Linked DNA regions of Homo sapiens: region 2 is linked to region 1. Evidence: promoter capture Hi-C in 16 types of primary human blood cells and fetal thymus (Javierre and others, 2016). All regions are on one chromosome and are shown on one strand. Each heading gives the region's core, a stretch centred on a gene start or on the middle of the fragment in contact. The rest is flanking DNA. Distances are from core to core; before and after follow the strand shown.

Region 1 (5,935 bases), core at 1,978-4,477:
CTCTAAGATTCAAAACGCCCTCAATCTAGGAGAATTTAGTCCTGCTCAGCAGCATTTTGGTGGCAGCGATTTTTCTTGTCTCAGCGTTTTAGGAGCAGTGAGGCAGCGTGGAAACGACACAACTGTGAGCCATGATCCCTGTGAAGATGAAGCCACGCAACACGCCCTTCACTGTGGGGGCAGAAAGAAAGAACTGTGTTCCATGTTGTGATGGTTTTTAATACTCTTGCTGTGAGGAAGAGAGTAACTAAGTTAATCAACCACCTACTTAATTAACCAACTAACCAGCATCCCTCATTCTAGATCAACAAGGATAGCAGCAGAGGATTCTAGGTAGACAGGACTGGCTCTAGGTCATTCCAGGCACAGCTTGCAGGGGTTAGCTGATTCCCCAGTGATTTCTGGGGTCCTACAGGAAGGACCCGGGGTCCCAGGGTCAGCTGACCTCCTGGAGAGCTTCAGACGCCCAGACCCACCCTTCCCATGATAGCTCCTGCTGCATGGGGCAAACCCACCAGATCAACCCGCAAGACAGGAGGCCCCTCCCTGGGAAATCTATGGGGGCCGCTGTGAGGAAGCCTCGAAGCCTCAATTCTAAGCGTGCTGCTGAGGCACTCAGCAAATGTCTCTGGCTTCCTAGTAAGTGGCAGGGATCTAAACAATGCTTTCTGCCCTCAGGAAGGTGGAAAGTTCCTCCCCCTCTCAAGTTCATACACAGGGACACAGGGAGGGAACAAGAGGCTTCCCCTGAACAGGGGTGGTTTACAACAGGCTGATCTTAAGAAAGGAATGGGGCACATAGAGTCAGAGAACTGGGCTCATTCAGATCCCTAACTGTTCCCAGACTTTAAGAATTTACTTGGTATTTTACTCATCTGTAAAATGGGTCCTTGTGTAGAGTCCTAAGCAGATATAAGCTGCGACTGCCAAATGGTAGGTCAGCCCTTCCACTCACTGTTCTTGCCATACTGCCTCCTCCTCAGGTCTCTGCTATCCCCTTCAGCAACACCTCCTGCAGTGGAAGAGCATACTTTGACACCCCCTCTCCTGCCCTTTATTTCCAGAGTCACATTTGCAAACAGCTCACTTTCAAAACATTAGGTGCCAAAGAGACACTTTGTTAAAAAAAAAAAAATCAATTTGCATTCAGGAATAAGTAGTGCCCTGGGGCTACTAGTTTTTCTATCTTGGTAGTTTTTTAAAGACATAATTCAGCTGAGCTGCTGATAGCTATGGCAGCCTCAGCTGAGGAATCGCTGTCTGGACATGCATTAGAATTCAGTCGACAGACGCGCAGCAGCAGCCAGGAACAGGGGTCTGGGACCCTAGAGTCCTGTCCCAGAATCCCAGGCTGCACTACCACCATGTTTCATTTCATCTCGGCCAAGTTACTTAGCCTTCCTTTGCCTCAGTTTACTCGTCTGTAAAATGGGGTAATCATAATCCCAACTCCCTCCAAGGAATGTAATTTGGGTGAAATGAAATGAATGCATGCAAAGCATTTAGCACAGGCAAACACTCAATCGGTATGCCTGTTACTTTGTCTTCGGGGTCACCATTACTATTCCTAAGGTCAGGAGTCGGGCTTGCTGCCAGTTCCTCCTGTCAATTCCCTGTGTACACACCCCCCACCCCCTGTGCTACCACACCCCCACCAGGACCCAGTGCACCTCCATCTCTGTGTAATGGCCTTGCCCCTCCACCCTCCAGCTGCAGCGACTCCCCACCCCCTCCCTGGCCCTCAAGGCCTCAGCACAGAAAAGCCTTTCTTAATACTTGTTGATTGATTTGCAAATATAACCTCACAGGCCCCAAAGAGAGAAGAACCAGAATCACCAGAACAAGTAAACCTCATTCAAAAGGGAAAGCATGAAAGCAATTTAAAAAATTAATATGCACAGACCAAAGCCTCAAGAAAATCTAAAATGTCAAAGGGTTGGTTAGTTCAGAAGGGCCATGCAATATTAATACAATGAGTTCTGCATTCATACTTTTCAGTATATTTTCAGAGTCCTCCATGATCATGCATTCAAATAGTGAAAAAAATGGGGGGAAAGCCAACCCGGAAGATCAAAGTGTGTGAATGCGCCCCAAGGAAGCCTGGGGGCTTCCCAGGGGGTTGTGACCACCCTCAGTAGTGCTCTCTGCTGGCCCCACACCCTGATGGCGCTTTGAGTTTTTCAACCACGCTGGAGTTCGGGTCATCTGCTGACACTGTCTGGAGAATGCCTGAGGAACGCCTGAATCTCTTCCCGCCACAGACACTCAAATCACTCCAAGCAAAGGACCCGGGACTCACATGTCAGGCCGCTGCACAGCACCGACACAGAGACCCCTGGGCCGTCCGGGACCCTCCCTCCTCCTGCTTGTCAGCGACAGCTCCCGCGTGCCAGGAGGCACATGCCACACAGCTGGCCCCCAGCCTGGGACAGCACCCCCCACCCCAGAATATCCCCCCACCCCGAGGTCCCGTCCTTCAGGGAAAAAAAGGAAGCGCGTAAAGACCCCCTGCCTCCCACCCACCAAAGGGAAAGGGAAAGAGACGCACTGGAGAGCTTGCCTAGAAAAAGTAGGAGAAGGGTCTTGAGCCTGCCCATTGAAGCCCCTAGCTGCGCTCTCCACCTGGAGTCTCGAGACGGAGTCCTAGGGAGCAAAGTCCGCTCGGTCCCGACAGCGACTGCGACATAGCTGCTCCGGTCTCTGCCCTCAGTCCAGGGCGCCCGGGCGCCACGGGTCCCACTCGAGTGGTCCTGCGCCCCAGCCAGTCCCCAAACCCAGCCAGTCAGCGCCCCCGTCCCCGGACTCCGGCGAAGCTGGCCCGCGCCCCAGCCCCTGTCCTGGGACTCCTGCCGAGCCCCCGCCCCCCACGCGCCGCAAACCCCGTACCCGCGCGCACCAAACCCCTTGCCCGTGCGCCCCCAACCGGGTCCCCGCGCTCCCTAACCTGGGTTCTCCCGTGACCCCATCCCCGCGCCCTGAGCTCCCGTACCCCGCGCTCCCCGAACTCTGTCTCCGCGCTCCCCGAACTCAGTCCCCGCGCCCCAGCTCCAGATCTCTGTGCTCCCCAAGCCTCGTTCCTGCGCCCGGAGCGCGAAAGCCCGCGCCGGGCCCGAAACAAAGAGGACCGCGGCGCGTGGCCGCGTTTCCTCCTTCCCCGGCCCCAGTACCTGGGGGAGCCTGAGGCGCGGTCCGGCAGGGCGATGGCCGCAACGAGGCTGGGCTCCGAGTAGCGCGCGGGCGGGCCCGTCCTCCTGGCTGGCTGCCGGCGCCCGCGGCAGGGCCCCCTCGAGGCGGCGCGGGCAATCGCCACGGCCGGCCCCCGCGCCCGCGCCCCGAGCCTGGCGGGTCACCTGGCCTCATCACCCTAACAATGCAGCGCGCCTCCAGGCGCCCTTCACCGGGGTCCCCCGCCCTGCCGAGGTGCGCCCTGGGACCTCCCTTCGCTGGCCGCAGAGAGGACCTGGAATTATCAGACCCATTGAGCAGCCCAGGCTCCAAGTGGTCTGGAGGCTTGCAGGTTCCGCCGGGCCGGTGTTAGAGTACCTGGGGAGGCGGGTTCGGATCCTGGTTCCTGCACAACCAGTTCATTCTTTCATTCAGCGCCTGTGATTAAGGTGCTCTCCGGGAGCAAGACCTACCCTCCCTCCTGTAGCTCATAGCCTAGTGGGAGTCGCGCATACATAAAGGAGCACAGCCGCTCCGGAAAGCCTAGGGTGCCGTAGAAGCCCCTGAAATACCCAGCTAATGAAGGGAGGAGGTCAGGGAAGTCTTTAGAAGTCACATGACTTCTTAAAATGCGCCGGGACAAATGAGCAGAATTTAGGCAAGCCAGGGGAAACCAGAAAAACGATCCCGAGCAGAGAGATTCTCAGAGGAGGAAAGGCCTATAGGTTGTCCATCCTGACTGTCCATCCCTGAGATTCAGATGGCCCTGAACTCAGTCGCTTAGCCTCAGTTTCCCCATTTGTGAGATCGGGGGAATGGAAAAAGTTTGCAGAAATCAGAAGTGCTCTTCCTCCAGGGAGGTCACAAGAGAAATTTCATCAGCGGTTTGTCCTGTGGTCCTTTCCAGGAAAACATCCTCCCCGCCAGCCTCTCACAGAAGAGACCTAGATTTCATCTGCCACGTGGAGCAGGCGGTCTCAGAATCCCACCCGGAGCAGGGTCCAGGGCAAGTCTTGGAGGACAGTCACCAAGAACTGCTTTGGATTCGGGAACAGAGCTGCCTAACCCATCCGCAGCCCTGGGGTCCTGCCCTGTTCCTCTGGCCCCTTCAGGGCAGCGGGGGAAGCAGGGAAAACAGCCTGTCAGAGATGGCAGAGAAACCGAGCAAGAATAATTATCCTGGAAAAGACTTTCAGAAGTAACCACCAGAAACTTCGAGTCCCCAGATCCAAACAGCTGAGAATGTGGGGCCTGAGCCACGCTCTGACTCCACTCCCACCACATGAGGAGAAACAAGAGCTGCTTTTCTGGAAGACTTGAACAACCCCTGCTGTGCTCTGGAAGGTAGTGTCATTTCTCATCCCCAGACTGATCTGGGTATTTATTCCCAGGCAAAGGCTTCATGAGCACCATGCCCCAGCCCCTAGAGATGAGGCAGGCATTTTTCCTACACTCTAGGAGACACCAGGTCAAGAGTCAATGAGATGAGTCAAGGGGTGCCAGGGAAGATGCCATAGGGGAAGGTGGGGAGGAGGTCACAGCCAGCTGGGTTAGGAATGGGGGTGAGGCTGGTACTGTTACGATCTCCTTTGTCCTGATAAGGAAACAGGATCTGACATTCTAGGCAACTTGTTCAAGGTCACCCACCTGGTCAGGCGAAGAAAGTGGGAGGGATCAGGACTATCTGGCCTTGAGGCTACTCTTAACTTCTTCCCAGCTGCCTGCCCACACCATCCACTCTGTGCAATTGGACTAAATCATCACTTTGCTCAACCCTCTCTTCCATTAAGACCGTGGTGATCTTCACACCCAGAGCCAATTACGTGCTATTCTGTGCATCACAGAAACCATCATAATGCCAAAAACCATGTTGGCTGAATGACAACATGAATTTGAGCTTCTTGCAGTGTTAGGGCACCCATTTACAGGAGGTGACACTGTTGTTTGTCTGAGAGCTCACAGTCAGGAAAACTCAGTGCAGTGCTGGGGTTCTCTGACCCTTTGTCAGGGAGCCTCTTCTAAAATCTCTCCAAACTGCTACCCACACCCAAGCCAGATGGCCCCACCGGCCACACTGCCCTTGTTGGGGTAGCAATGGAATGGGATGCCCCAACCACACCTTTGTTTCTAGAAAAACTGTGACTTGGGTGCTCATTCGTGCAGTGTCTGTGGTTATATTCCCTGGCAGTGTCCCAAGAAAGGAGAAGAAAAACCGGGCTCCAGTATCCCCACGCACTCTGTGTTGGCTGGGATGGCTGTTCCCCGGGTTCCCCACACCTCGTCTAGAGGCACATGAAGGGAAGCCTCTCTGGATCCCCAATCGGGACCTGGGCCCCTTCCAGAGCTTCGCTTCCCCAGCCCAGGGCCTCCCCACTTCGCAGGCTGCAACTTCAAGTTTCCAAGAAATTAAACAAAAACAGGGCATGAACCAGTATCTGAAAAAGGGAATGTGCATTTTTTCCATCCTTAGCCATCCAAAAAAAACTCAACTTTGAAAACAAAAGTCTCCAACATTTAGCTGAAAAAAAAAAAAAGCAGCAATATGCCAAGAGTGGCCTCTCCCTCCTAGTATGCCAAGCAGAGGGCAGGGGAGTCTGGGCAAGAAACTCCCGCCAATCTCCTTCCTCCCTGAGCCCTTCTTTGCAGACTCATTCTTGCTCCTCCCCTGTAGGAGTTTTAGAAGATGTGTTGGAAGCTTGTCATTGCAATGAAGATTGTCTTTGCCACCGCAAAAATCTGAATTTGTATCCCTAGATCAAGGGAGGTATAT
Region 2 (5,935 bases), core at 1,102-3,601, 2.6 Mb before region 1:
GAAAGACCAGAGTTGAGAGAATCAGCCAGGTTCGCTCTCTTAGCCCAGCTCCCTGTGCCCACTCACACCCCCAAGACTGGCAAGATGGGGTCCTAGGGCCCCCATCAGGACACAGGGCACAGGAGATGCTCTAATGGCCCTCCCAAATGTTCACAAATGAAGATGCCGAGGGTGGGGGCCCGGCGGCAGGGACAGGTACCTGAGATGACGATGCAGGTGTCCCTGGACCGGTGCTTCATTGCCTTGTAGGCGGCGTTGGCCACAGCATAGAGATGGGGTGGCCGCTCATAGAGCTCACGGCCCTGGTACCTGGCGATGGCCTCAGGCCCATACAGGGGCAGCTCCTGGTAGGGGTTCACGGACACCAGCACCTCACCGATGTAGGTGTAGATGCGGCCCTTCTCGAACCTGGACACAGCAGGGGTAGGCCTCAGCACTCACAGGCTTACAGGCACCCACAGGCCTTTCGCCAGAGCCCATATCAGGGCCTGGCCCCAGTAGGCCAGCGCTCCCACCCTGACGGGCTGAGAGTGGAGAAGGAAGAAGGGGGCAGGTGTTGACCTTGCGTCTCCCTGGTGCCATCCTGGGTGAGCTGAGCCACTCAGAGACTGTCTCCATTGCGGCATAGAGTTTGGGGTCCACAGTGGTCTCCCCAGGGATCCCAAGGTCACTGGAAACATGACCACTCATTTTGCAAAGGAAACAGACTTGCCCAAGACTGCACTGGGTGCCGTGAGTCAGGGCTGGCTCCTGGGGTGAACCCCGCAGGGCAGATGGGGAGATGGGGTTGAGAAGTGACTGGGCTGGGAGGGGAAGGAGGGGCCTCCTCGGCTGTTTCCTGTCTCAAGGCCTGGGCGGGAACCCAGAGACAAAAGGGGACCCCACCCAGCCCCACCCAGATGACAGGGAGGGAGTTGATGTCGTTGTCTTTACACCCCCGACCCCCCAGCCTGTGGCCAGTGGCTGCTGCCTCTCCCCTGGCACAGCCTCAGACTTCTTGACCCTTTCCTTCACAAACCTGGTCCCCAGTGGGGGTGGATGTCTGCCCTTCTCTTGACCTTTCTGCCCCTGGGAGGAGGACTGGCAGGCCTGCCCCTCAGACCCATCTCCCCTTGGTGTGTGGTACCCACCCTTCCCTGGATGGCCCTGTCTCCCGGCAGCCTGTCCTGGGTGGGCCTGTCCTGAGGTTCCTCTTTCTCCACCACCTCTGACATGGGTTTTCCTGGGCCTAGCTCCCATCCTCCTACAAGCTGGGGATGAGGGCACAAGTCACCCACGTCTCCAGGGCTCAGTGTTCTCCTCATCAAAATAGAGAGGACAATGTTTCATAAGCTCATTTTATAAGAATGAGGTAGAACAATGTGCACAAAGTGCTTAGCTCACGTCCTGGCTAGCCCTCCTCTTTGAGCCAGGCTCGTGGTCTCTTGCCTTCGGTGCTTAGTGGGGATCCTGGTCCCCAAGCTCTCCCCAGGGAGCTTCCGGAGTACACAGCGAGTGGCCTTCTGCCCCTCCCTGGGAGTCCTGGCAGGAAGCCCAGCTGCCTGTATGGCCACCCTACTGTGCCATGCCCCTACCTCCCGGGCTTCTCCCTGCCCTCCACCTGCCCTCCTTGATGGTAAATTGGGCTCCAATATCACTTCTACCAACTGTGTCCTGTGATACTCCATGTACCCCAGGAGAATGTCACCTCAACTTGGTGGGAATGTTTGGACCCTAGGGTGGAGCCTGACTGCTTCATCTCAGTGTCCCCAGGGCTCAGGCCAGGCCCCATGGATGAGATGCATCGAGGGAGCATCAACAACTGGCTGGGAAGTGGCTGGAGGGAGGTGCCCCTGGTCCCTCCTGGAAAGATAGTGCCTGGTATGTATCTGTCCAAGAAGTGTCATGCCCTGGCCCCGTCGGGCAGGAAAGAAGGGGCAGAAGATGCCTGGACTGTGTGGGAGGCAGGGGTGGGTTGAGGTGGTGGGCAGCTCCGGTGCTGACTTGCCAGCCCTGACAGGGACAGTTGCCTCCTTGTCTGTTCCTGTCCCCTGGGGCCGTGCTTTGAGGCACTCATTTCAGCCCCATCTGGTCTGGGTGGGTGTGTGCCACTGCCCCCTCCCTTGGACAGCAGCGTGCCTTCCTCTTTCCCTCAGGTCTCTGCGAGGACGCAAGGTGGGAGACCCTGGAGGAGGGGAGCCACTGCCTCCTGCCCTGGGCCTACCTGAGCTGCAGGTTCCTCATGAAGTCCTCCATGGTCACTTGGTCCAAAAGCACAAAGTCAGGTTTGCCATACTCAGGGCCTTCCTCGTCCTCCATCCTGCCGGCTGGAAACACCTTGCCTCACCTTCCTGTGCCTGCTGGAAGGACAGTGAAGGAGAGGGGGAGGGAAGGCTAGGGGAGGCCCCACCGCCCCCGCCCTGCCCCACCAGCCTCCTCCAGTGCTGGTGTAAAGTAGGAAGTGGGTTCTAGTCCTGGGAGGGGCTGCCCTCCGCACTTGCCACTCCTTCCCCCTCGAGGTGCTCTAAACCCTGCTTCCTGTCCCTGCGCCCCACAAGGAGGCTGTGCCTAACGGTCTGACCCGTTTGCACGCCAGGGGCGAGGGGCCGGATGCTGGGTCCTCCCCGCTTTGGAGGGTTCTTCGCTGGCCTCCTTCGGAAGCTCCCCTCCACCCACAAGCAGGAGACAAGACTCCGTGGGTTGGCTTCCAACCCTGGCAGCACGTTAGAGTCACTTGTGGGACTTTAAAGAAAGATTTTTTGACGTGATCTTGGTTACCTGGCTGTGTGTGTCTCTCAAGTCAGAACTGAACACTAGATGCAATATACTGTATGTACATTGTACATTAATACAAAAATGAAAAAGGATCCTAATGCCCAGGCCTTTGGGGTGGGGGCAACAGCCTTCTTTGCAGTGTGAAGGCCACACTGGGGTGTAGACGAGCAAAGCTTCTTGTGTGACCTGCCAAGGGCCAGTGGTCCTAGCACTGCAATTCCCCACCCCAGCCACGGGGGAGGGACAGAGGACCCCAGAGCATCCTCTGCATGGGGCTGGCCTTCAGTGGGACCCCTGTGCCCCTAACTGTCCTCTGCCTTGTACTTGTGTCCAGCCGATCCCCCATAAACTGCAGTGAGGACCAGGAACATGCCTGGAGCCCTGTGGCCTCATCTCAGAGCTGCTGTCCCTGCACTTTGAAGATGAGGCAGCGCATTTGGGGAGCGGCTGCATTTAGGGAGTGGCCAAAATCTCCAGACACTGCATTCCTGACACTTAGTGCTCCTGGAAGAAGTGGGAGGGGTGCAGTTCTCTTAGCTTCCAGGCAGACTGGAAAAAGTTCTTTTTCATCCCAGGACAGACTGGGGCAGGTCACACCCATCCTCTAGGAACACTGGGGCGATTCTCTCATCAAAGGTCAAATGGATGCAGTTCTCTCTCATCCTACAAATAGACTGGTGACATTTCTCTTTCACCCCTTCCCTCATACAGGGAGGTCAAAGGGCAGACTCCAGAATTCCCAAACTTCAGTCATTCATGTGCTGCCTTTGAGATTTGTTGTACTCATAAGCACTAGTTTAACTATTGTCTTTCAGTCATCCCATTTTTTAAACTTTGAAGTAATGGATAGGCAAGTTAAGTTTATTTTTTTCTCTCGAATACCTTAAAGCAAATGCATTCCTGATAAAACTGAAAGTACTTATTCAAGTACCTAATAAAACTGAGTCACGCACCACTGCAATAAGGGGCCACTGGCCTGAAAAATCCCCAAATTTGTAAGTGGGCAGCCTCTGGCTCCACCCTGGGCCAGACCTGGGGCTCCTCTTGGGCAAATTCAAAGTCAGTCCTTCGGAACTCTGACAAGTGTGGCCTCCTCCCCACCCCCAGGCTCTTGGGCTGGTGCTTTTGAAGGGTTTCCCAAACCTACACTCAAGTCTGGGAATTCTCACCCAGACTCTTGCCAGCTCATCTGTCTTTTCAAGTTTCACTTCCCCAACCCCCAGGGAGTCAAGCCAACCAGTGGAACCAAGATGGCTGTATTCCAGTAAAACGTTAAGGACACCGAAATCTGAACTTCGCAAACTTTTCATCTGTCACGTAATCATACTATTTTGGGTATTTCCCCCACCACTAACCACTTAAAAATGTCAAGACCACTCTTAGCTCAGAGATTTGGCTGGTGGGAGGAGTTTGCCCGCCCTTGCTTTAGCTGCTGCTGGTTGCTGGGACCCTGGGCGTCCTTCCTTGGTAGTTTGCACAAATTTGCCATGCATTGCCTCATTTGATTCTCATGACACATGTAGGAGTTACTGTTATTTTCATTTTACATATATTAAAACCGAGGCTGAGATGACATCACTACAAAGGAAGTTCCCTCCTGGGTCAACAGACCTCTGGGCCCTTATAGCACTGAATTCAGTGGGTCCTACTCAAATCCCAGGGAAAAGTCGGTCAGTCAGAGTCACGGCCTGGTCCTCAGAAGGGAGGACAAATGGTAGCTCTATCTGCAGCTTCCCCAGGGCATGCTCCTTACAGGGTATGACTGGTAGAACAGGTAGATGAACAAAGGCAGAGGCTCCTAATGGAAGGACAGCAAGGAGGGGCCACCACCAACTCAAGCCTGGCAGGGGCTGAGGAAACCATCCTGGCCCCAGTGAGTTTCCCTCTCATTATCTCATCTGGATCAGTTTCACAATGCCTGCCTCCACCAGGGCTCCTACGGCTGCACCTGCAGGTCCCTTGCCCTCACCCTCCTCGTTGCAACCTTCAAATCCCAGGCTTGCTCTGTTGGTGCTGACCTTGCAGCAAATCCCCAGCCCCAGAAAAATGTCCCCTTTCAGGGGAGTTGCTTTTTCGGCTCTACACAACTGTACCATAACTTAGTATTTCTATTAAAAATTTTTTTTTTTTACCTCATCTGAGGTGATACCATTGGGCTAATTGTAGGGGAATGGCTCTACCTAGGGGTATACTCTCATAGGCCACAGGCCACACAGCTCAACTGAGCCTCCTGGAACTGAGAGTGGAGGCCTAGGAGGCGCTGCCACAAGGCCAGCTCCATTCCCCGCTCCATCCTTCTGGGAGGCTATCAGGAGTTACTGTCTCCTGGGATTTTTTTTCTAAGCAGGGATGTGAGACTTCCGGTTCGTACCCCACTCCCCCCATGGTATAGCTGCAGACTAGACAATCTGCTCAGCTGCAGTCTAGAATTGGCTCCTCAACAAGGGGAGATGCTGTGCCTCCTGTTGCAGGCCCCTTTGGGTGCTTTTCCATTCACTGTCAGTAGTAAATTGGATGTAAGTCACTGGAGGCTGGGTGTGGTGGCTCACGTCTATAATCCCAGCACTTTGGGAGACTGAGACAGGTGGATCACCTGAGGTCAGGGAGTTCGAGACCAGCCTGACCAACATGGTAAAACCCCACGTCTACTAAAAATACAAAAATTAAGGCATGGTGGCATATGCCTGTAATCCCAGCTACTTAAGAGGCTGGGACAGGAGAATCGCTTGAACTCGGGAGGTGGAGGTTATGGTGAGCTATCATGCCACCGCACTCTAGCCTGGGCGACAGAGCAAGACTTCGTCTCAAAAAAAAAAAAAAAAATGCTGGGCCTGGTGGCTCACGCCTGTAATCCTAGCACTTTGGGAGGCTGAGGTGGGTGTATCATGAGGTCAGGAGTTCCAAGACCAGCCTGGCCAAGATGGTGAAACCCCGTCTCTACTAAAAATACAAAATTAGCTGGGCATGGTGGTGGGCGCCTGTAATCCTAGCTACTTGGGAGGCTGAGGCAGGAAAATCACTTCATCCGGGAGGCAGACGTTGCAGTGAGCTGAGATCATGCCACTGCACTCCAGCCTGGATGACAGAGACTCCATCTCAAAAAAAAAAAAAAAGTCACTGGTACTTTAATGGCTCTATTTGTCAGGGCTTGGCCTGGCCTGCTGCAACATTCCTTGACAAC

What was found. The method cuts DNA at HindIII sites, captures the fragments that hold promoters and counts their contacts. A CHiCAGO score of 5 or more calls a contact.
Region 2: a contact is called between the fragment with the promoter of MYO1G here and the fragment with the promoter of TNS3 in region 1, in 1 of 17 cell types (M0 macrophages). The highest score is 7.3, in M0 macrophages.

Annotation. Positions count from the first base shown.
Region 1 is chr7:47,578,884-47,584,818 of GRCh38, forward strand. TNS3 (tensin 3) reads right to left here and starts at 3,228. Exons shown (of 31, transcript NM_022748.12): 1 at 3,168-3,228. RefSeq lists enhancers at 2,564-3,101, 3,102-3,639. The HindIII fragment of the contact is 9,706 bases long and covers 1-5,858 here.
Region 2 is chr7:44,976,664-44,982,598 of GRCh38, forward strand. It overlaps MYO1G (myosin IG), which reads right to left and starts at 2,352. Exons shown (of 22, transcript NM_033054.3): 1 at 2,204-2,352; 2 at 200-408. The coding sequence starts at 2,298. RefSeq lists a silencer at 2,295-2,384 and enhancers at 2,585-2,654, 2,685-2,734, 3,962-4,091. The HindIII fragment of the contact is 4,854 bases long and covers 1-2,925 here.